Linked DNA regions of Homo sapiens: regions 2, 3 and 4 are each linked to region 1. Evidence: promoter capture Hi-C in 16 types of primary human blood cells and fetal thymus (Javierre and others, 2016). All regions are on one chromosome and are shown on one strand. Each heading gives the region's core, a stretch centred on a gene start or on the middle of the fragment in contact. The rest is flanking DNA. Distances are from core to core; before and after follow the strand shown.

Region 1 (6,148 bases), core at 3,649-6,148:
GGGTGGGACCACAGCACTGAGGAGAAGCCCTGGGGATGCCCACTGAGCCTCCTGGTACAGCCCCTCAGAAGCCACTGCCCAGCTAACACACAGCCACCCGGTTTCTGGGGCGGAGCCAGGCCTGGGGCCAGTGCCCTCCTGAGCCGGCACCCAGAGGGCATGCAAAGAGGCCCCAGGGCTGGGCCCCAGGAGAAACACTGACCCTCACAGCCCAGAGGAGGCCTTTGTGTGGGAGGAGCTGCCCTGAGCTGCCTTCGAGCCTCGAAAGGTGTCACCCTCTGGGGCGTCAGACCACAGGCAGCCCCAAGTGTGCTAAATGTGCTTCCCTGGCCCCTCCAGCATCCTCCCTGTGGTCTGTCCTGCCACGCCTGCCTGCTGGTTCCGGCCGGGTGACAGTGGGCACCTGCTGAGCGGGTCTCTGCAGCCACCCTGCACGGCGAACGGCCCGGCCAGTTGAGGTCTCCAGTGGCCTCGCTGTGACCTCAGAACCAGGGACTGGGTCACAGGTCAGGTTGCACCTCCTCGACCCACACAAGGCGGCCACCTGCCCCAAGCCAAGTGTGCCCAGACCTCCGTCCTGAGCTCAGCCTGCAGCAGATGGCGCTCTCTGCTGCCCCCCTTCTTTCCTTGGCCACCCCAACCATGGTCCCCCAGGCTTTGCCTCGTTTGGTGCCCTCAGCCCTCCTCCTAGGCTGGGCCTCCTGCAGGCCATGCAGGAGAGGCCTCTTGTCCACCTGTGCCCTGCAGAGGCACCCCCCACCAGCCCCACAGAGCTGCCGTCCCTGCTGGGGCTGTGGCCAGCTCCGGGGGCACACCCCTCGTGGACAGAGGCTGTCTGGGGCCAGGGGGGTTGGGGAGGGGTGGAGGGGAGGTGGCTGATGGGTCAGTCCCTCCAGCCTGGGTCTGGGAGAACCCACAGCAGGCTTTGTGGGGTGCCTGGTTGCCTCTCACAGGGAAAGTGTCAGAGGGGCAGTTGGGGGTGACTTCCTGGTCAGGGGGAGAGTGGCAGGAGGGCCTATGTCCAGGAGGGGCTATGTCATCCCCTAGCACCTGCTGGGCGGTAGGGACAGGTTTTCTGGCCCCACAAGGGCCACACGCCCAAGGCCAGGACCTGACCTGGGGCCAAATCTCCCCAGTAGCTCCTGTGTCCGTTCACCACCTGGCTGAGCTGGGCTGTGCCCTGGTGGTGGCTGAGGGTCCTGGAGGCGGAAGTGCACAGGGCACAGCAGCTCACCCAGAGATCAGGCCCCGTTAACCCTCAGCAGGAGAGGGAGGCAGGGGCCGGGGCTGCTCCACCCAAAATGCCACCCAAGTGCGGCACGGCCCAGGGTGCGGAAGGGACCTGGTGACCAAGGCCGGCATGTGCCCAGGGTGCGGAGGGGACCAGGTGACCAGGGCCAGCGCGTGAGAATAACATGTGTGACCGACACAGGCAGCTGGAGACAGGAAACGCACAGGGGGTCGGTGTCCCTCAGACAGCAGAGACTGTCACGGGCCGAACTGTGTCCCTCAGACAGCAAGGGACTGTCACGGGCCAAACTGTGTCCCTCAAAAATCCGAACGTGGGAGTCTTAACTCCCCCAGGATCCCAGCTGTGACTGTATTTGGAGGTAGGGTCTTAAGAGAGGAGATTAGATTAAAATTAGATTGTAAATCAGCAAATTGTATCTTAAATATATGATCTTTAAGTGTCACAAATACCTTAATTAAAAAAAAATAATTGAGAAGCCAGAACATGAAAAGTTTTTTAAGTTAAAATAAGGCTATTTGGGTGGACCCCACCCAACCTACCTGTGTTTTTATAAGAGGCAATGAGGACACAGACACACAGGAAAACGGCCCTGTGAGGACACGGGGAGGAGGCGCCAGGTGCCAGCCCAGGAGAGAGGCCTCAGGAGCCAGCCCCACTGCACCCTGGCCTCGGGCCCCAGCCTCCGGGACTGTGGGAGAATCTATGTGGGTTGCTGAAGCCCCAGCCTGTGGTCCTTTGTCACGGCCACCAGAGCAGACTCACACAGCGGCCTCAAAGGATGGGGCCACTTGTTCTCCCCGCCGCCCCCCTGCCCCGCCCACCCCCCTTTCCCCTGCAGCCACGCCCCCTCACCGGCCGCCTCCCGCCCCGCCCACCCACCTTTCCCCTGCAGCCACGCCCTCTCACCGGTCGCCTCCCGCCCCGCCCACCCACCTTTCCCCTGCAGCCACGCCCTCTCACCGGTCGCCCCCCCTCCCCCCCGCCCACCCCCCTTTCCCCTGCTGCCACGCCCTCTCACCGGTCTACACACCCGTGCACCCCTGCAGGGCCTTGGCACTGGCTACTCCTGCCGCCAACCCCACTCTGCCCCAAATATCCACTTGGCTCCCGGCTTTGCCTCTGTCAAATATTTGCCCAAAGAAGCCCTCCCCTGACCGCACACTCGCCCTCCACACGGCCAACCCTTCACCTTGCTCTATCTTCTCCACTGCACTTACTGGGGGCTTCAGGTAGTCTTCCTGCTTCCTTCCTTCCTCCCTCCAAAACAGAGGCTGAGCCCGGCTGTTGCGGACCCTTGCCTGAGGCGAGAGGCAGGAGTAGGACATCATGTGCCAGGCGCAGTGGCTCACACCTCACGAACATTCACCTTGAACAAACCTCATCAAGGTTTTCCCCACATCTCAATGGAAGGGCAGCCCACGGCTGATTGACGGGTTGGAGGGGTGCCCAAAAGACAACCTTCCTGCCCCAGCCAGCCCAACTCCAGGTGCTCCAGGGCTCCCAGTGGGACCAGGCTGTCTCCAGCCAAGCCGACCTCCTGGCCTGGCTCCCTCCCTCTCCGCAGAGTGCCATGATCACCCCACACAGGCCCCAGCACCTCTGACCTAAACCCCAAGGGCCAGAATACGGTGTCACCACCCACCCAACCTGACCCAGGCCGAGGGAGCTGGGAGCAGAAATTCAGGATGCGGAGGTGAGGGGAGCAGAGGCTGGATTCAATTCAGCCGAATTCCAATTGGGAGAAAAGTGAACTCCACCCGGGCTTGCCTGGAAGCCCGTTTCCTTGGGAACCGCAGGGCTGAGAAACAGCCTGGCCAGGGAAAAGGCAGCTCCTGGCGGGCAGCCTGGGGCAGCCATGGGTGTGCAGACCTCGGCCCCTGTGAGCAGCGGAGAGAAAAGGACAGGTGGCACTGGGCTGTGGCTTCTCCGTGTCCAGGAGACCCGAACGGCTCAGAGCCTTCAGGCAAGAGTAGGACATTATGGGTCGGGCGCAGTGGCTCACGCCTGTAGTCCCAGCACTTTGGGAGGCCAAGGCGGGCAGATCATGAGGTCAGGAGTTGGAGACCAGCCTGGCCAACGTGGTGAAACCGTCTCTACTAAAAATATAAAAATTAGCTGGGCATGGTGGCGTGTGCCTGTAATCCCAGCTACTCAGGAGGCTGAGGCAGGAGAATCGCTTGAACCCAGGAGGTGGAGGTTGCAGTGAGCCGAGATCATGCCATTGCACTCCAGCCTGGGCGACAGAGCGAGACTCTCTCTCTCAAAAAAAAAAAAAAAAAGTAGGACACTGTTGTCTGTCCAAGGGAGGGACAGACCCCAGGGCAAGTGGCACAAAGCAGACAGGGTGCCAGGAGGTGCCCAAGGGGTGCCAGGGGCAGGGTGAGGACCTGGTGCTCAGACTCAAAACCTACACTCAGGCTAGCTCCCAGTCGGCCAGCCCAGGAGTCACCCAGGCACACCCTAGGGGAGGGGACGGGGCTGCCTGCTGCCTGAGCCCTTCACTCCCCCGGGGAATGGGACCTGTGCCCCACAGCCTAGGGACAGGGCCACTGGCCTTAGGACAGACCAGGCAGCAGACAGGCCACGGCACCATAAGCCCTATACTCATTCCCCGGCACCACCTGCTCCTGGCCAGGCCCCACACTTGGTCTGGCCTGACCCTGCCCTCAAGTGCCCTGAGGGTGACATGGGGGGCCCAGGGGCTGCTGGGGATGAGGATGAAGCCTGACTGTGAGGCGGGGCAGACTGGGCGGGGGCCTGGGCCTCGCTGGGTCACCTGGGATGTAGGTCAAGGCAAGGAGGGAGGACCTGGAACGCCCCTCCCCTGCCCCTGCCTGGCTCCCCAATGCCCTGGCCATGGGAATCAGGTACTGTGGCACCAGGTGGATGGTCTGGGTGTCCAGGGAGTCTGGGGCCACTTTTGGAATCTGCCAGCCCCTGCCACGTACCAGCGTTTTCGAATCCTCTCACTCTCCGCCAAATCACCCAGAGCAGTTTTCCAGGGACAGGAGAGGGAAGGAGCTGCCCATTGCGCTGCCCCTGGCTCAAGCTCTGAGAGGGGCGTAGGGCTGGGGACAGCGGCCAGGACTCCGGGGCTGTGGGGGCGGGTTCTGGGTGCGTCATGGGGTGCGCCCTGCTGTGCCTGCCCGAGTGCGGGGCCTGACCTGACCAGGTGAGCCCTTCTCTGAGGAAGCTGATGAGGGAGAATTTCTCCTGCTGGCACTGAAGAAGCAAAGTGTGTGGGGGGGGGAGCCTCGGGGAAGGGGGCTGTGGGCACCTCCAGGATCTGAGGGAACCCCAGGAATAGCCCGTGAGAGAAACGGGAGGCCTACAGCCAAGAGTGCATCCTCTAGAAGACAAGGAAGAAAGAAGAATGCACCCTCCCAACAGCCAGGGAGTGTGCGAGAGGCCCAGCCTCCAGTGCCTGGCAGCTTCAGCACCCACTTCAGCCAGGGAGCCCTGGGCAGGCCCAGCCATGCCTCCCAAACCCTCGTCTACGGCTGGGCGCTGACATGCAGTGGTGGTGAAGTCACCAAGTTCAAGGTAATTTGTTGCACAGCACGGGTACTTAATGCAGGAGGGACTCGATAAACATTTAGGCAGGAAAAGAAAGAAGAACAAAGGAGGGAGGGAGGAGCCACCAGGAAGGAAGGAGGGTGACTGCAGAGACCGGCCCTGGGCAGCGGTACCAGGGGCACAGGGAGCCTGGCCCGGCCCATTGTCACTGGAATTCATGCCATGCAGACTTCTACATCAAAGGGAAACAAGGTCAGGAGGGCCGAGGGGTCCACGGCACTCCGCACCCACGGGGCCAGGCTGGCACAACGCCCCAACGCTGCAATCCTGGGAAGAGTCACACGCGCCCTCCCGGGACCCACGTGACCATCAAGGGAGTGTGGAGGACACATCCCTCGGGGGTGACGCCCCTGCAGATGGAGTTTCCCCATCTGTGCCACCCTTGCAAGGCCTGGGAAAGGCTGCGGGGCCAGGCGGCACCGGGCAAGCTGAGTGCCAGGTGGTGGTTGCAACACACCGGGCAAATCTGAAACCATGGGACGGACGAGCTGCACCCCTGGGAAAGAGAACAGAGGAAGGCCGGTTATCAACGTCCTCCTGTGCCTCAGTTTCCAGAAACAAGCCAGACTCAGTGCCTCAGGGAGACCCCGTGTGGCCTCCGGAGAGCACGGGACCCGCCCTTTGTGCAGGTGAGGAAACTGAACCCCAGAGCAGTGAGGGACTGGCCTGGGGACCCTGGGCTCAGCCCTGGGCGCCTTCCCTCTGCCCATCTCAGACGGGCACAGCCAGCACCGCCTCACCCCAACGCGCCTCCAGACTGGCCCTCCAGGGGCCCCCAGGCACAATCCTCTCACTTTCTTCCTCAAGCCCCTGCCTTCCCCCTTCGCACTGTGACCCAGGGGCTGCTAGCAGCTGGGCTGGGCTCCAAAGCTTGAAGCTGCTTCTCCAGGTCTCTTTCCAGGGGGCGGCGGATGGCTGCTCACTCAGGGACGCCAACACCAACAGGAAGGGACCCATGCACGGATCTGACTTCCCTCCCAGGCTCTGCCTTCACTCAATGTCCCTGTGGGGCAGCTGGGGCTCCCGGCCGCCCTCCCCTGCCCACAGCCGTGAGGTTGCTTCCTAGGGTTCTGTTTTCCCCACAGTCGGAACTGAGGTGCTGGGAGGCTCCAGAAGAGGGATGGGGTGGAGCAAGTGGCCTGGAGCCCCCCAGGGCAGACCCCAAAGAGAAGGGTCAGAAGTGCCCTCTGGGGCCTGGGCAGCTGGGGGGAGCCCACAAGCCTGAGACCCTGTGGGAGGGAAGCGCCCCCACCCCGTGGTAAGAAAGGGGCTGGTAGAGGCTCCTATGTGGCTCCCTCTGTCCCCTCCCGACCTCTGGCC
Region 2 (6,148 bases), core at 2,375-4,874, 260 kb before region 1:
CTGAAGGAGGTGGGAGAGAGCAGGCAGGTCCTGCACACACCCACGCCAAGGAACAAGGGCAGGCTTTCACTGAATAACAGAAACCTGAAGGTGAGCTCGGCCACCCCTCCCTCTGGAACTCACACCTCCCAAAGTGCAAAGCCTCCCCCGGGCCTGCTCTGGTCTCCGCTGCGAGTTCTCACCGGCTCCATGCTCTAAGTGCCTTTATTTCCCAGGAGAATCACAGCTCCCTGTATTTCCTATCACAGATCATTTTAAAATTTCAGTTTTTATGGGGAAAAAAAGACATGCATGTGAATTTGGCATATGATGTGGCATACACAACCCTTTCTGCAGTGCCGCCTTGCAGAGCCGCCTGCCTCGTATGTTACTACTTACTGTGTGTGTCTCTTAGCTCCCACCCAAACCCCAGGTAACACCCCAAAGGGGGCCGAGCACTCTGCTTCTTCTCTATACTTTAGAGGGCCTGAAAGAGGTGGGCTCCACAGCAGCGAGACCTTCCACAGTAAGACATCTAAGACTTCCAGACATGTTAACGAAACAAATTTATTTAAAACCTAATTGCAGTGATACTTTTTCATTGCTTTGAAAAAACAAGTGGCAAAATGCATACAACAAGGTATGTGAAGGGCACAAACCCTAAATTTAGAGGTCGATGATTTTTACAAATGTAACCACCACCTAATCAAGAAATAAAATTATCCTAGAAGGTTCTCTCAAGTCCCTTTTCCCGGTCAAGATCCACCCCAAAGAGGCACCCGGCTCCTGACTTCGGCCACCATCAATTCCTTCTGGCTGATTTGTGAACTTCATATAATGAAATCACACAGCATGTCCTCCTTTGTGCATGGGGCTTCTTTAATTCCACACAGTATCTTTAAGATTCAACCTTGCTGAGTCTGTCGGCCTGTTCTTTTTCACTGCTGCTTATTAAACCTTTCTACAAGTTGGCCACAGTTTATTTATCCACTCCTATCAAGTGTCTGGGTTGTTTCCAGTGTTTGGCTACTATGGGTAAAGCTATTTGCAATGTTACCCCTGCCTCAACGGAGGGATGACTTCTCAGGGTCCGAAGACGCCCCCAGGCCCAAGTGCGCCAGGCTACTCACAGCAGAACACAGGCAGTGCCAGCACTCTTCTCCCACCAGCATCCCTGCAGCAGAGACGCAAGAGCTCGGGGGAAGGGGACAGAGAGTGCCAGAGCCACCCTGGCTTATTTTACCCATTAGAGTGCAGCTTGAGAATAAAAAACAAGAGTCTCACAAACTCTGGAAAAGAGCAATTGTTCTGCAGCCATGGCTTCATGGCTTTGAGTCGTCCAAACAAATGTCAGCCCCTTGCTCCTAAATGGTGGCCGACACAGAAAATGGGCACCTCAGCCAACAGCACGAAGGCCATGCCTCTATGGTGGCATCTGCCACCCAGCATGCCACAGCACCCAACACAACAAAGACCAAGCCTCCGCTCTGCCCTGAGAGCCTGAGACTGAATGGCAGAGCGTGCAGCTTGGTCACCTCACTCTGGAACCGGGTGGTGGCCTCACCGTCTCCAGAAAACTCACATTTCCCTAATGGGCCATCAGATACCTCTTGGCCATCTGGATATCATCTTTTGTGAATAACAGACTTCTTAAACAAATTCTTAATTTATATTAATTTTCCTTAAAGTCCCTCCTCCTCTCCTGATTGCTGTATTAGCAATGGCAAGTGCCATCTTGCCACTTCCAAGTATAAAATTAAAGGCATTCTTGTTCTTCTCTCTTTTGATACCCCTACCACTTGAGTGCAACCCACACACTGGAAGGTACATGAGTCCTAGGTGAACGCCTGCTATGCCTCCCGTGAAGGCAGCTCCCGCTGGAACTCCCTGCCAGTCACCAGCCCCTCCACCTGCCAGAGAGCTCACAGCAGACTGGTGTAGCTTCACCGTGAACTTCAGACACAAGGAATCAAAAAGTATGCCCTCTCTTATCGCTTCAACCCGGGAGGCAGAGGTTGCAGTGAGCCAAGATCACGCCACTGCACTCCAGCCTGGGAAACAGAGCAAGACTCCATCTCAGAAAAAAAAAAAAAGTATGCCTTCTCTTGTGTCTAACTTCTTTAGCTCAACTTCAGGTTGGTTAGAGTCATCCACTACGACCCATTCACGTTCATCACTGTACCCTAGCACACTACAGGGCCACGGTGCAACGTTGTCATCCCTTGGACAAGATGAACATTTGAGTTCTTCCCCGTTTGCAGCTCCAATGACTCACGGGTGCCACAGGTATCTCTGTGTACTTGCCTTCTGATGCATGTGTGTGTGCATGTATCTGTACACACCAGGGGTGGATGTGCTGGGTCACGGGGCATGTGTTGTAATGGCGATACCCATTAGATATCGCAAACAGCCTTCCAAAGTGGTCCCAGTGATGCACACTACCATCAGTGAATGAGCGCCAGCATCTCCACCCTCCCACTGATACCCGAGGAAAGCCTTTCCATCCTGGCCATTCTGGTGGTGTGTGCTGGTACTTCATTAATAATGGCTTCAGTTTGCATTTTGCTATGATTCATGAGACTGAGCCCCTTTTCATGTTTATCGGCCATTTGGATTTCCTCTCTTGCCTGTTTTTCTACTGGTTTGTCAGTCTTTCTGCATTGATGTATGTGAGTTCTTCACAGTACGCCCTGGAGTAAGGGCCCTTTCTTGTCTATATATACTGGTTGTACTCTTCCAAGCTGCGGAGGGCCTTTTCACTCCCTTCAGAGTACCTTTCAGTGAAGAGAAGCACTGATGTTTACGTAGTCTAATGCAGGACCCTCTTCCTTCACGGCTGGTGCATAACCATAAAGGTTTCATGTCCTATTTAAGGAATATTTGCCAACCTTAAGGTCCCAAAGACATTTTCCCAAGTTATCTTCAAGAGTTTTCTTATTTTATTTTTCATGTTTAGATCAAAACTCCACCTGGAATTAATTTTGTTTATGGGGTGAGATCAAGATTTGTTTTTATATATGGATATCCAGTGGACCCAGAACCATCAATTCACTAAATTTTTCTTGAACCTATTTATTTAAAATCTGCCGGCTGGGTGCAATAGCTCACGCCTGTAATCCTGGCACTTCGGGAGGCTGAGGAGGGTAGATCACTTGCGCTCAGGAGTTCAAGACCAGCCTGGGCAACATAGTGAAACCCCATCTCTGCCAAAAAATACAAAAATTAGCCGGGCATGGTGGTGCGCACCTGTAATCCTGGCTACTTGACTGGCTGAGGCAGGAGAATTGCCTGAACCCTGGAGGCGGAGGCTACAATGAGCCAAGATCACACCACTGTACTCCAGCCTGGGCAACAGAGTGTTTCAAATAATAATAATAAAAAATAAAATCTACCTCAACTGCCTTTTGGAACTCCGTCTTTTCCCTTGGACTATGGCAGAAGTTTCCAAACTCTTCACCTCTCTCTGCCTCTCTCTGCCCTCTGCCTCACTAGGTCCTAACCTTTCATGGCTCCCTACTGGCTACAGAACAAAGGGCAAGCTTCAACGTGACACACAAAGAACTTCAGAATTTCCCTTCATTGCCCCCAAAGCCTGCCTCACCCCTGAAGTTCTAGCAAGACCAGGCTCCTCCAGAGCACCTTCAATAACACCATCTTCTCCACCTGAAACGCACTCTCCCGCGCCACCAGCAGTCACATCTACCTGGTGAGTTCTTACTCCCCCTACTCATTCCTTAGCACGTAAGCTTCATAAGGCCAGGAATTCTATTTCACTCTCTGCTGAAAATACAGTGCCTACCACAATGGTTGGCACAAAACAGAAGCTCAATGAAGATCTGATAAGTGAATGAGTCCTTTTTTTTTTTTTTTTGAGACGGAGTCTCACTCTTTTGCCCAGTTGGAGTGCAGTGGCATGATCTCGGCTCACTGCAACCTCTGCCTCCCAGGTTCAAGCAATTCTCCCGCCCCAGCCTCCCGAGTAGCTGGGATTACAGGCGCCTGCCATCACGCCCAGCTAATTTTTGTATTTTTAGTAGAGACAGGGTTTCACCATATTGGCCAGGCTGGTCTGGAACTCCTGACCTCATGATCCGCCCACCTCGACCTCCCAAAGTGCCAGGATTACAGGCTTGAGCCACTGTGCCCAGCCTGAATGAATCTTTTTAATGGAGTTCACATAGGGCCTCCTCTAGAAAGCTTCCCTAGCACCTATCAGGCACCTGCAAATGTTTACCAAGCTGACCTGAGGCATCCGGCAAAGCTGCCTTTCCCTCCCTTACAGTCCCCTGTGTGCAGACAACACTTCGTCACTACTTGGACACTGTGCTGATGACCCGTGGCACCTCATGCCGGTAGGTGGGGCCCTTTCCTCTTCATTTATGTGCACCCCCATCCCTGTCTCCCACAGTGCCTGGCAGGCAAGGAAACGTTTCTTGAATGATTCTTGACAGTCCTCTCTTTCCTTTTGTCCAGTGAGCCATCAGTTCTTCTTCAGCAACAGCTCTCACAACCACCCCTCCTCCTTCAATCCAGCTCCTCCCCCTCATGGCTCATGGGTGCACAAGATCCTCCACCTACACATGAGAGCACCCACCCAGCAGGGTGTCGGGTACACTGTAAGCCCTCAGCAAACACAATCTACATTCCCACACTACATCTCTGCCTTTGTCCTCTGCCAGGCCTGCACCTCAGAATACCGATCCCAGCTGGCCAGCTTTGACTGTAAACCTTCTTCTTCCTCTGGTTCAACCTGCAGGTTGGCCACACACAGCCTCTGTTCACAAACCGGCCAGCTAACTCCGACGGCGTCCCATGCACGGTTCCTCCGTGCCACAGGCTAGGCTGGTGACTCCCCTGGGGTCTGGAGGAGTCCTGACCCTGCTAGGCCCACACGGTCTGTTACATAACCAGCAGCTAAGGTGATAAAAGGTCAAACGCTGAATGAAACACATTCCAAACCCCCCCAAAAAATCACTTGGGCAATCATTGTAACAAACACATTATGGCCTTCAAGAAAGTATCTTCCCCGTTCTTCTAATTTGGCGACAAAATATATAAGTATCATACTTTTTTCTTACCAAAGGTGCAGGAAAACAGGCATCACTAGCATGACTGAAAATGGGAAGACCTTTCTGGAGGACAAATTAACAACATATAGCTTTAAAAACATGTCTATCTTCGACCTTCCAATTCTACTTGTATGAATTTACACACAAAGATGTATGTATAAGGATACAAACTGCTGCAATTGCAAAGAATTTTGAAGAATTCAAATGTCCAAATAGGAGCAAGGAAATAACTGCAGTTCATCTATACATAAGAAGGCCATGGACAAAAAAAGGGAACCTCTTCCTGCTAGCAAAAGCAACGACATTTTCTTCGTATATTTGTCTGTTATTTTCCAAATTTACATAAAGAAAACATTCAACTTTTGTAAATGGAGGGAAAATTAGAAATTGTTACAGAAAAAAAAAGGAAATACTCTGTCAAGGAGGATCCTGAACTCACGCAGAACTGGCCTCACTTCACGGGTGTTACCGCTCACCCCAGCAGCCAGCTGTGCAAGGTAGGCACAATCTCCATTCTTAACACATTTTCCATTAAGGGAGTGCGCAAGGCTAGTAAGCAGCACCCACAGGGCAGAGGCCTCTATCCGGCCGTCTTGCTCCCCTCCTCAGCCCCCGTCGCCCCTGGAGTGTGGATCAAGCCCTACTACAGAGCAGGGCTAGTTTCCATCACAGCTGGCCACTTCGTTGCCTCCTATTCTCTTTAAATAAATGAGGTACTTCAAATCAACTGGTAAAGCAACCAGGATGTTAGCAGGACATGTTTTATAAGCCACCCACTCGAAAGTGGGACAGTGGGATCTGCAACTGACAGTGGCACACCTACCCCCTGGCCTCTGCTCAACTGTAGCCCTAAAACCTGACTCTCACCAAAAAATCCTAACAACTAGACTGGAGTAAAAACTACTGCACAAGAGAGAAAAACACAGCCACGGGCAGCTCAGACCTGTAATCCCAGCACTTTGGGAGGGGAGCAGGGAAGATCACTTGAGCCCGGAAGTTCCAGACCAGCCTGGGCGACACAGTGAGACACTCATCTCTACCAAAAAATTTAAAAATTTAGAAAAAAGGAGAGAAAGAGAAACACTTCTGACGTGAAGTTA
Region 3 (6,148 bases), core at 2,659-5,158, 170 kb before region 1:
GAATCGCTTGAACCCGGGAAGCAGAGGTTGCGGTGATCCAAGATCACACCATTGTACTCCACAGCCTGGGTGACAGAGCGAAACTCCGTCTCAAAAACAAACAAACAAACAAGAAGAGACATGAAGAGGATGGTTTCCCAAGCCCACTTCCTAACGCTGCCCCTTATTCTTCAGGTGTGCCCGTGTGTGTGCTGGGACGTGTGTACATGTGTGCATGCGTATGGCTATGAAGGTCCCCACACACATGGTGTGTGCATGCATGCACATGTGTACACACTCACATGTCCCAGAATGTCAGGTGGCAGGGACTGACTCCTACGTACTGAGCTTCTGGGTGAAGCGGAGGTGGGATCTGGGCCAATAAAGGCAGGCAATGGGCCTCATGGTTAACCTTGGCCCCTCTCCTGGGTGAGCCAGATGCCTGTGATGCTGGGGGTGATGAAGTCCGAAGGGGTCTGCATGGCTGCCCCCCAGTGCCCGTGAGCACTTGTGTTCAAACAGGCGAAGTGGGGTTCAGGCAAGTCAGTCCCTCTTGTTAGAGGGCAAGGCCTGACCCACCCATGACATCCCCATACCAAGTGGCACCAGGCACTTCACTTTCATCTCCCGAGAAAACAACAGAACATCATGCAAAATTCTGGGTGCTCTGACTTCAGGATATATTTTAAAAAATAAATGGCATCTGGACGCAGGACTTTGAGCCAGGCCTTCCCAGCTTCTCAGGAGCTGGGCTAAGCACCAGCATGGACCTGTCACCCTCACTGATGCCATTAGGGAAGGAGGCAGCCCCGGAGCAGAGAGCATGTCACCAAGGTTGCCAGGGCCATTCCCAGGAGCATGTGGACACCCAGACTCTTCAGCTTAGCTTATTTTTAGAAGACACGAAACGAGAACTCGGAATATCTTTTGGTTCTAACAAGAGTTTTTGTTTTGCTTTTTAATAAAGAAGAGAAAGGGGTTCCTTGGTTTTCTCCACAGATGAATGTTTTTACAAAAAAAGAGTAGTTTTGGATGTATACATGCCACTTAGGAAAACCTTTTGTCCTTGATCGCTTTTAAAACCCTTTTTTGGACATCATCAGGTCATTTTGCGTATTTTTGTGGACTGGCTGATTTCCCCTGTGTTTTTGCCAGGTGACCGCTCTCCTTTTCAATTTCCCCTCCCAGAAAGCAACTCGTAGGGAAGGGAGGGCCTTGAAAAGTGCCATCGGCAGGATGGCCTCCAAGGAAACAGAGCCCGTGGGAGTGGGCTCTGAAGGTGGGTGGCCCCATGGGACAGGAGTGCCTGGTGGCCCTGGTTTCCCCTTGGAGACATCTATGCAGACTGGAAACGAAGAAACAGAAGGAGGCACGGAGTCGCTTTCTCTTATATTGTGGATATTTTATCCCTGTCTTTCACAGCAGCAATTTTAATAAACAGATGCCTGCAGCATTTCACCACTACACAAGAGCTACTCGCGCTCGGGCAGGCGCACACCTGCCTGTGTACACAGGTCCTCGCACAGCACGGCAAACGCAGCCAGGCCTTTGGGACACAGGCCTCTGAAGTGTAAGTTAGCAGCCCTCACCCCGACAAGCTTCTAAAGACCAAAAATACCTCTATCCTCCACTACATAAAGCTTGTGAGTAGCAAAACTTGTAAAAATGAAGTGTACAAAAGGAAACATCCGTATAATACATTTGCACCCTGTATACAATGGGTCCCTTTGAAACTGGCCAACAGTCAGCGATGGCAGATTTTCAATCATAGAAAAAGAAGCCAGTGGCTGTCATGCGCACTCAGGTCAATGGTTTGTGTGGGTTCTCCAGAGAGAGAGATTTTCCTTTACAGTTACAGTACTTGCTGGCGATCTTGCTGATTAAAAGGCCAGTTGAATTTCCTGGCATTTAGGCAAGTAACATTTGATTGTCACAACGTACAATTCTGAGACAATAAATACAAGTAGATCAGATGCATTTCTTCATTGTATCAAGTAACTCCAGTTTAATGTAATACAATTTAGTGCATTTCAGTATCTCATTCACAGTTCGACTTCTGTCCAAATACTTGTGCAACAAAAAGTTAAGAAATGGAGACGAACTCCAGGTGACATTGTCATTACACAGCTTCAAATTCTAAGACAACTCAATGATCTTTGAAAAGCGTACGCTGCTGTTGCCTGGGCCGGCGACACCAATGTCCCTGGTAACTTCCTGGGCTCCCTAAAAGTGTTCCCGTCATTCTATTTCCCGAGCAGTTTGTAAGAATGCCACCATTATCCCTGAATTAACAAGCAGCCAGTGGCGAGTGTTCATGATAAAACTGAATTCATGTGTCCACCCCACTCCAGCAGATCAGTGTGACATCTTTTACGCAAAAATTGTTTTTGCATCCTGGCCCCGATAGGCAGGAATACGGAGCCGGATGTCTGCATCCCCCAGGTCGGCCCCACGGCAGGGGTATGGGGCAGAGCCAGGGCGGAGTCAGGGGTGTGGCCGGCCCCATCCCCCGAGGCCCGAGGGGGCTTGCCTTTGGTTTGGGGACTAGCTCAGTAGAGAAAGGGGCAGGCACACGGCCGGGGACGTGCTGTTTCCAGAAAGAAGGCAGGCAGGCTTTTCGGGCTGGCCGTTTGAACCCTGAGCCTAGGTGCAGTGCAAGGGCTAGAAGCACATCGCGCCGTGGAGCACTAGTATTGCACGCCAGGGGCTGCATGCAGTGAGCCACAGGCCAGAGGCCTGCAGCGGGAGTCTACGCATGGGGCTGAACAAGTCAGGTGAAAATCTGCAGGGCTGGAGAGATTATACTTGGCTTGTTGTAGAAGTGTCTCAGGTAGAGACAAAGCATGCAGAAACTTACTCATTCTTCACCCCAAATCTGACCCCAACCGGTAGTCACAACAGGCATGGACAGCCTGGCAACAGCTACTCAATTGCACGTGAGTGAAACACACAGCTGGGTCCAACCACGGCTTTTCCTTCAAATCAACATCAATGCTCAGCAATACCGCAACGAACAGCGTGAGGAAAGATTCTCATGCCACGGTGCGCGAAAGGGAGTCGGGACAGGCAAGGCAGAGAGACTCAAAATTCATCGACAGGACGTGCTTTTTTTTTTTTTTTACACAAGAAAGTGCTGCTTACATTGTTGTTTTGTGTTATTTAGTGATTTGTTCAGCGCTCATCTCTTCCACCAGACTGCGCTTCCTGAGGACAGGGACCTTAAAGCACCTCACATAGGGTGCGCGTCTGGTACACTGTCGCCGAGTACCAGACAACCAGTGTCTCACACGGGGGAAGACGATGAAGACAGCAATGGCATCCTTGGGAAGATGGGCAGGAGACCCCATGACACCTGGCACCTGGGCCTAAGCTGGGAGGCCAGCGGCGTCCCCAGGAGACCACGGCCCAGGCTGGGAGCTTGACCGGCCAGACGCCCGTGGGTGGGCCTGGGCCCTCCCGCCTGGGAGCCTCCAGTGTGGCGCCTGGCTCTGGGTGGGTAACAGGAGCTACAGGCCAGCAATGCCCTTCCTGTCCTCGGCCTGGCTCAAGGACTGGGTGCAGAGGGCATCAGCGATGCCAGGCCTAGAATGTGCCTCACCCCGACAGTGGCCAGCACGGACTGTGGGCTACAGAGTTGCTTCAGCCTGAGCACTCAGCCTGAATTTGGACATAACATCAACTGAATTAAGCTCAGAAGTAGGGTGTAAAGGAAAAAGAAAAAAAAAAGACTGTTCTGGGATTTATGAATTTAATTTAAAAAATGTAAAGGAGCTCTCCTCCCCTTTTCCTTCTGGATGAAAAGCAAAATCCACCCTCCCCCCCCCAAAAAAAAAAAATTCAAACATTCATGGTGTAGTTTTTATTGCTCTTAAAGACTTGGTGTTGAGAAGCACAAGCTAAGCTGTGAGATGGGAAGGAAACCAGATGAGGTGTGACCCCTGCGCCTGGGCCTCCGTCTCCACTCTAACCTAGGGGCTGCCCAGCTCCGCCATGGCTCAGTGCAGAATTTATACATTATATATTAATTTCAAAGGGAGGGAACTTCTATGGGAAACAATAATAATTAAATCATAAAAGATCTAAATTTGCATTTTCCAGGTCACATATGTGCATGGTCGTACCCTTCAGCTTTTTTCCTTAAAGATTTTGCAGGTGTTAGTGAGTCAGTGAATGGCATGGATCTAAACACACATGGAGACGGATGAGCAGCGTGCGGCATGAGGAAGGTGCAGGAGAATCTCTGGGGTGCTCAGCCAGGGGAGCGCATGCCCTGCCCACGGCACAGCTGCCCGAGTGGGCGGGTGGAGGGATGAGATTTCAGATGGAGGGAAGCACATTTCCAAAACAACAGTGTCTGCAAGCGTGTCTCGCATGGTGTCGTTGGTCTCATCTGGTTTCGTTGGTCTGCCCCTTCACCCCTGCGAGGAGCCGTGCTCTGAGCAGGTGTGCACAGGTGGCGTCCCGCACACGCCCTGAGAGCACGGCCCCCACAGACCCGGGGCCCGGCAGCGCCTCCATCATGCAGAACGCTGCCGTCCCCTCCAATCTCCCCAGGACACTTAGGCCCGATGCCTAATTATGTTCTCGGTTTACTTTTCTTCATGCCTCTTTTCTCCATTTGTTTTCCCCTAGAAAACTCAACCTACCTCTATTCAGAACGCTGGTTTCAAGATATCAGAGATAACACCCATTTTGGTTTTTTTACCTTGCTAAAAAGATGAGGGCGCTGTGACTTAGAACAAGCAAGTCGAAAGCCAAATGCAGGTGGGCTGATGGTACCGCAACCAAGTTGAGCGTTCTACCACTGCCATTGCCCCAGGGGCCCCACCTGGCCATGCCGGGGGAGTGGACATGCTGTAGGGAGAAGCATCCCTCGCTCGGCGTGGGCCAGGGGCTCGCTGCAAGGCCAAGGGAGCCAGCATGACCGGCCGAGCGCTGCCCTCTGCTCTGCCTGGACTCTCAGAGACGTCCAGGAGGTAGGGAGCTGGGCGCTCAGGGGTGGCCGGGCCACAGTGACACCGGCCAGGATGGGGGCGGGCCTTCCCCAAGGACACAGTGCGAGGCTGGGGGGTGGGGGGTGCCCCACCTCTAGTTTCCAGCAGGAAGTTGAAAACCACCAAGAGATCAACCAGTAAAAATAAAATCTCTAGAAGTCAATGAGCTCAGTGTTAACAGTCTCCAACCACCTTTAAAAAACAGAGGGTTGACGGTGCCGTCGCTTCTTCTGAAGCATCCTAGAGTCCCACAGGCTGCCCTGTTCTCCCTCCTTGGCTCCTGATCTGTGGGATGGGGGGGCGCGCGGTAGCCCCGAGGGTCCTCCCTCCCCAGCACCCAGTGTGGAGGGACCAGGATCTGACAGCCATGAGAGCGACAAAGGAGCTTTAGGTGCATGGAGAACTCTGCATTTCACTGAGTTCTCAGGGGCCCATCCACTTTAAAAACAGATGTACGTATTTACACACAAGGTCAGATAGGAGCTAGGACAGACAGGGCTCTAGAAAGTGAGGTGGGGCGTTCGCCCTCAGCCAGCCCCAGGACAGGGCAGAGTGAGGGCTCCGACTTCGAGGAATGGACCTGACGTTCGTGCCGGTGTGCTTATCACTACGGGCGCCCTCCACGGGGCCCCCACTGGGAGCCAAGGTGCTGAGCCGAGCGATGCTCCCGGGGGACGGGACCCGGCCGTCCACTCCCAGGAGGACAGCAGAAATTCATTACGAGACAGTTTCGGGGGCGGGGGGTGCAGAAGAGGTGAGGGGCCAGGTTAAGTTCCCAAGATAACTGATTAAAAACCAAAAAATTTGATCTAAGTTTAAGGAGAGAAAGCAGCCAAAGGCTCCCTCTTGGAAGCGGAGTTCTGGAGAGACGGCGTCCGCGGGAGGCCTCTCCGGCCGGACCCACCTCCCACGGGCGCGCGTGGAGATGCTGGGACCCTGCGCTGTGGGAGGCTGAAGACTTCACCTGACAGGCCTTCTGAATTCTTTACTCTTGGCTCAAGTTTTGTTAATATTAGTCACCAGTTAATAAGAAAAATAGTTTCTAATTGTCTTTTCCTGCACTCTGTGTGTTGGTTTTGAGTTAACTGGATACCACCGTCAGGGCCGCGTGTGTTCAGTCACAGCCATTAATTATTCCTTTTTCTTAAACTCTTGGTTTCCGTAGCTGGAGCCTT
Region 4 (6,148 bases), core at 2,249-4,748, 130 kb before region 1:
GCAGAAGGCAGGCATGCCGCTGACAGCACTACCTGGGGCAGAAACGAGCCCAGGACTTGAGGCCCCTTGGAGGCCACTGAGCAGCGGGGGCGCGGTTGCAGGCTCTCTGACATCACGCATGAGGGCACAATGCGGTGACTGTGGCCCACGCTGATCTCGTCCGAATGCTGAGAGAGGGCGGCGTCACAGTTACCACATTATCTGAGAAGTCTGGTAAGCAGCGAAGATACTACTAAGCATTCAACTAAAATTTTAGATGAAACAAACACAATCCTATTTTGAGGTTTAAAGGGCAAATTTCAGTTCTTGGGTAAATTCACTTACAGAGACCACCTTACCTCTTCATAAGCCTGAAAAATATGAAATTGTTGCCAGCCCAACCTTATCAGCATTTGGAATTAGCAGGAGACTAAAAGTCTGGCAGGAGGAGGTGAAACTGTCAGTCTGTGCAGACGATTGTGTAGCCTCAATACCCAGGAGAATCCAAATCTACTACAACAGGAACTAGAGTTGATAGTGATGCTAACAGGAATAATGTACAACATGCAGACTGCAGTGGCCTCCGAATCAGTCAGAAGAGACCAAGACAATCACAGAGTTTATCTCTTGCTCTCTTAATGGCTCTAGGTCACTGGCAGCTCTGTCCCACATGGTCATCTGGGCCCAGGCTCTGGGGGCTCCACCACCTTCAACACGAGGCTTCCAAGACTGCCTGGCTGGTGCCTTTCAGGCAGGTGGGAGAGGGGGAAACTGGAAGTTTAGGGGAAGGGCTGTCCTCTACGGCAAGTAGGATGCAAGTTTGCAGCCCAGCGCAAGTGCTTACAGCTTGGGAGGATATGGATATATGATCCCCTTGTGTGTTCAGGAGCCAAGGAGAGGGGCCCAGCAGACCACCCCTCCACAGGAACACACAAAAGCAGAAGGTGTCTTGAAGGAGAGCGCAGATTGCAATAAGAAAGAGAAAATACCTAAACAAAAGCTTCAGAGGAAATAAAGCCTCTATGAGGAAACCACAGAACATCTTGAAAGATACAAAAGCAGAGCTGAACAAATGGAAAAACCCCGTGTGACCAGGCTGCAACCACCCCTTCCCTGAACACATGCCCTTAGTAACGTGCAGCTCCTCCTGCCAAGACATGGAGTCTACTCCCCACCCTTTTGAACCCAGGTTGACTTCAGGGCTCACCCTATCAATAGAATGTGGTGGGATTGGTGTCACAGGACTTCCAAGACAGTCTTTAGAGCGTTGCCACTCCCTTACACCCTTGTGGCCATCAGAGGTGGTGGCTTGGGCTAGTCTGACAGAAGGTGGTCCCACATGGAGCAGAAATGGACCAGAAATGGGCCATTCCACCTGAGGTTCTCCAGGCAGCTCTAGCTGACGACAGCCACTCCAATGACCCCAGGGGAAACCAGCAGAAGAACCATGTTGCTGAGCCCAACCCAAATTGCTGACCCACAGAATTGAGGGCCCCCCGACATGATGGTTGTTTTAAATTGATACATTTTGAGGTGGTTTGTTAGATAGTAATATGTAAATGATACATAAACCTAAATATATAACTGAATCCTAATTAAAATAGCAAAAGCTCCCCCCCAGCCCCAGAACTAGACATACTGATTCTATAGTTCATATGGAAAACTAAACAGGGAAGAAAAGCCAGGAAAATCATGAAAAAGAACAAGAAAATAGCCCTAAAATACACTACAACATCTAGAAAGCCTCAATAATTAAAACAGCACAGTACCGGCTTATCAGTAGACATGCAGACCAACAATTGAGACTAAAGAGTCAATGCTTCACTGACTAGGAGCAGCTGTCTGGGGCACCTCAGCACCTGGAGCAGGGTGTGGATCTGCAGCCACTGTTTGGGGACTTGGATCCCATGTGCATGAAGCACTGACTACACGTTCGTCAACAACACACATCTCACATGATCCATTCCATTTCTATTGTATTTATATTTCTATTGTATTTAGATACTGATAAAATAAATAAAATACAAAATTAAAACCGCTGCTAGGTTCATGAGAATCTTTTAGCATTGCCTGTTTTCTCAACCAATGGATTTAAAGGCATAATTATATGACATACCTAAAACCACTCCTCCAATTCCGGATAACAGAACCCCGCCTTTTGCAACATGCAAGTCACTGTGAGTTACCTACCTGCCACTACCCCCTTTGCTGGTAACAGAACCTCCTGCTATTATGGCAGCGCTCACCCTTGGATATGGGAGGGAAGCCCAGCCCCAGATCTAAGCCATAAAGGTAATCCCATCCCCTCTTTGAGCAAGTGATCCAGGGATGGGATGGGCATGTGCCCTGGGTCCAGCCAGGGAGAAGTCTGCGGGGGCTTTAAGGGAGGCTTTTGCTTTCCTAAGACAAGAAACAAATACCTCTGGTCATCACCTTTGTCGTTCTTCCCTCCCTCGGTGAGGAGGCAGTGTCTGAAGGTGCAGGAGCCACTGTGGGAGCGTGAAACCATAGGCGTGAGGACAGAAGACCAACACCGTTGGTAGAAGGTGGAAGGTCCCAGATCCCCTTAGGGTCTGGGGAGCAGCTGAGGTCACACCAGCAGCTGCCCTCTTCAAGAGGCGGGGAAGACAAGAGGTAACGGTGTTTAAATCACTATCTCTGTTACCTTTGGCCAAAAACACAGCTTACATCATCAACAGCTATTACTCTTACTCACGTGGGCCTGGCATAGAATACAGATGCTTGATCAATGTTTTCTAAGCGAATGGCTCGTATTCAATATACATTTGTGAGAAACAGCCAGCATAGGCTGGGCACGGTGGCTCATGCCTGTAATCCCAGCACTTTGGGAGGCCAAGGTGGGCAGATCACTTGAGGTCAGGAGCTTGAGACCATCATGGTGATGGTCTCACCAACATGGTGAAACCCCGTCTCTACTAAAAATACAAAAAATTAGCCGGGTGTGGTGGCAGGCGCCTATAATCCCAGCCACTCAGGAGGCTGAGGCAGGAGAATCACTTGAACCCGGGAGGCAGTTTTTTTTGAAACTCTGTCTCAAAAAAAAAAAAAAGAAAAGAAAAGAAACAGCAGCATGGCTTCTTAGTCCACACTGGTTACATGCCACCTCCGTTTACAGTTCCTGAAAGAACAACGTCACTCCTGAAAGAGTCCATGGAGCACTTCAGCAAACAATCTCATCTCAGAATCAAGGCCCCGACAGACACTGGACGGGCCCGAGATGGAAGTGACTTTGGACTCAGTGAAGAGGAGACTGCGACGTTTCCAGGCCTCGCTGGAGATGCCGGGGGCGTCACTCCAGCAGGTAGAGGCCAAACAGAAGCTCCGCTTGGGCAGCCCTGGTCGGCCTCTCTTATGAGACCCACACGGCTGCACGCTCTCCTGACTGCAGCTTTGGGCTGGATCAGTAGCCCCAGGGCCCCCAGGCCACTTCTGAAGAGGGCGAGAAGCTCCCCGCCAGGTACTGTCTCACCGGGAATCGGAACTAAAGACCAGGGTCCTAGAGTTATTTCCCCAAGTTGTGTCTGCCACTGCATCACTGCCAGTGTAAACTGCAAACCCTGGCAGGAAGAGGGCAGGGAGGAGGTGGAGCTGGGCAGGACGAGGGGAGGATGAGGGTGCTGGTGGCCCAGGATGGGAAGGCTGCTGGCCAAGGACCTCCAGCCCCCCACCCTCCCGTCACCTACCCCAGCTCTCTGAGCTCCAGAATTTGTCTCCTCTGGGGTGCTGTGATGGTCTCACTGGCCGGAGAGTGGTGATGTTGGGTGGGAGGTGGAGGGATGTGGAAAGCTCCCAGGGCCTGATGACTGCACAATGGACCTGTGACAAGTCTGCGGGCCTGCAGGACACAGCAGGCGCTTCCCATGCTAGGGCACAGCCATGCACCAGGGCAGAAGAGCATTCTCCAAGGGTGGCAGATTTGTGGGGACCACACTCCAAAACACACACACGCCCATGTACACACACACACATACATGCATGCACACATAAAACAGTCACAGCTAAGTTGACCTAGACATAATTTTCTTACAACGAACTACGCGTTATAATAACTACTTTTACTCTATAGAAACAGATGGATATTTGCTGCATACTTATTCATTAAACTGGTCATCAATGTCTCATGCACTTTTTTTTTTTTTTTTAAGAAGGAGTCTTGTTTTGTCCCCTAGGCTGGAATGCAGTGGCATGACCTCAGCTCACTGCAAACTCTGCCTCCTGGATTCAAGTGATTCTCCTGCCTCAGCCTCCCAAGTAGCTGGGATTACAGGTGCGGGCTACCACGCCTGGCTGATTTTTGTATTTTTAGTAGAGAAGGGATTTTGCCATGTTGGCCAGGCTGATCTCGAACTCTTGACCTCAGGTGACCCACCCACCTCGGCTTCCCAAAGTGCTGGGATTATAGGCGTGAGCCACTGTGCCTGGCCTCATGCACTTTTCATTATATTTTGCAATTTACAAAGTTATGTAGGAGGTGGAATTCTGGTTTCTGCTGGGGATGTACAGAGCTTGTCACTCCCACTCTCACAAGAATAAAGCCAGACAAACCGTAAGTTCTCGACTTTGCTTCATCCCATCAGAGACCTGAGGCTGCAGGACAACCAACTGGAAGCTGGGGAGAGACAGGGCCTGCAGGGGAATGGCATTGAGCCCTCCCGTCCCTGGGGCAGTCACGGGGCATCGTTGGTAAGAGGAGCTTGGCTGGAACCCCTGAGTCCTGGTGGAGGCTGAGTGTGTCTGGGCAGAGAGGGGAGTCCTGCGGGGACAAGGTGGAGGGCCCACCACCCTCCTGCTGGCTTCTCCTCGTGACCCCTGTCCAGCCCCCACCAGGTGCCCACAGGGCTGCCTGGGGATGAGTTCTGACAAAGCCACGCTCCTGTGCAAGCATGAGATGATGTAGGCATTCCACAATGTTCTAAACAAAGAGTGCCTGGACCTTAAAGGTGTACTCATTATTTACCGATTGAAATGCCACATCTGTCATTCTACAGGCACCCTGAGGCACGGACTTGAAAAAATGCATTGATTCAAGATGGAATAAACCGAGTAGGTTTCAGAACAGCCACCCTTGGCCTGGACAGTGCAAGAGCTGCAGAGTGTCACCTCACAGGGCCAGCGGCGACCCAAGACACGGGTGCCTGGAAAGGGGGCTCTCTGCGGGGACAGGGCTCAGAAAGGCTGGACCTGTCCTGAACCACAGAAACAGGGTTCCCTGAACCTCGGCCATCGTCTACCATTACGGCGCCCTGTCCAGATATAAAGTCAGAAAATCTCAGATGCACAAACATTTTGAAGTAAAAGATAGTTTCTAAACCATTACTCAAACCAATAAAACGTGAAGTGAAATGAAATGTGTAATGTGAATGAAAATGCTCCCCAATGTGCACAGTTCAGCCGAATTTTCTTTAGGGTGACAACTGTCAGGTGTGCGATGGGCTGTGTGTCTCTCCTGAAATCGCACACAGAACCCTCAAGCCTGGTAGCCAAGGTGCGACCCCGGGATGACCCTGGGACCCCGTAGGCCAAATCGCAGGCTTTTTACTTCCTGTCACCATAGTCCCCAGACTGGAAAACGGAGCTGGCTGGATGTGCACATATGCAAACCGCCACCTGCAGGGCCACCCATGCTGCCTCACCTTGTCATAGGTGCTGTTAAAACATGCACTAGCCCAGCAGATGCCTCCAAACTGTGGCTACGGCTCTGCCCTCCCTCTGGGCTTCTGAGAAAGGGTCCGACTTGCTGGCGTCAATCCCAGTGGTAGACCCCGAGGGACCCTTGCCTGCCGGAGCTGAGTCAGTGATGATGTCTCCAGGCGGGCTGGGGAGGGAAGCCCCTGAGGGCACGTGGCCCCCCCGCACCTGGACACCTCCCGCACTTGCTGTTCTAGAGGTAAGAGGTGATTCATGGAAAAGCGCTGACACTGCACATCTGAGCTTTTCCTCATTTCCTGGCACGGTGTATTGACCTCCTCCTGGGCTCCCTCTTTTCTTCTGCTTTCCCCAAATCCCCAAAAAGCTTAGATGAAACCCAAGTTTTGTTCTGGAATTTGTCCCTAATAATCCCACTGCACAGAGGCCGAGCACAGCCGTCCCCCTGCCTGCCTCCCGGCACATGCATCTCCTGTCTGAGGAACAAGGCTGGTTTTCTGTG

Evidence for each region. Contacts are between HindIII fragments. The CHiCAGO score rates a contact against its expected background, and 5 or more counts as called.
Region 2: a fragment that was not itself captured here is called in contact with the fragment with the promoter of AATBC in region 1 in 1 of 17 cell types (endothelial precursors); the score reaches 6.3 in endothelial precursors.
Region 3: a fragment that was not itself captured here is called in contact with the fragment with the promoter of AATBC in region 1 in 10 of 17 cell types (endothelial precursors, erythroblasts, megakaryocytes and 7 more); the score reaches 15.1 in endothelial precursors.
Region 4: a contact is called between a fragment that was not itself captured here and the fragment with the promoter of AATBC in region 1, in 5 of 17 cell types (endothelial precursors, erythroblasts, megakaryocytes and 2 more). The highest score is 9.1, in endothelial precursors.

What each region holds. Positions count from the first base shown.
Region 1 is chr21:43,811,317-43,817,464 of GRCh38, reverse strand. It overlaps AATBC (apoptosis associated transcript in bladder cancer), which reads left to right and starts at 4,898. Exons shown (of 2, transcript NR_026961.1): 1 at 4,898-6,148. It overlaps LOC124905033 (a long non-coding RNA gene), which reads right to left and starts at 4,793. Exons shown (of 2, transcript XR_007067897.1): 1 at 2,470-4,793. The HindIII fragment of the contact is 6,406 bases long and covers 1-5,700 here.
Region 2 is chr21:44,065,821-44,071,968 of GRCh38, reverse strand. All of the region lies in intron 7 of TRAPPC10 (trafficking protein particle complex subunit 10), which reads right to left. Among named protein-coding and RNA genes, the nearest start is that of PWP2, 39 kb to the left of the region's middle. RefSeq lists an enhancer at 4,172-4,714. The HindIII fragment of the contact is 207 bases long and covers 3,521-3,727 here.
Region 3 is chr21:43,982,349-43,988,496 of GRCh38, reverse strand. AGPAT3 (1-acylglycerol-3-phosphate O-acyltransferase 3) reads right to left here. Exons shown (of 10, transcript NM_020132.5): 10 at 905-6,148. The coding sequence ends at 6,105. Among named protein-coding and RNA genes, the nearest start is that of TRAPPC10, 27 kb to the left of the region's middle. RefSeq lists enhancers at 2,023-2,553, 5,006-5,767, 5,768-6,148 and a silencer at 3,314-3,373. The HindIII fragment of the contact is 4,574 bases long and covers 1,622-6,148 here.
Region 4 is chr21:43,944,594-43,950,741 of GRCh38, reverse strand. All of the region lies in intron 2 of AGPAT3 (1-acylglycerol-3-phosphate O-acyltransferase 3), which reads right to left. LOC105372826 (a long non-coding RNA gene) reads left to right here and starts at 4,228. Exons shown (of 3, transcript XR_001755079.2): 1 at 4,228-4,267; 2 at 4,578-4,683; 3 at 4,989-5,339. RefSeq lists an enhancer at 6,065-6,148. The HindIII fragment of the contact is 5,034 bases long and covers 982-6,015 here.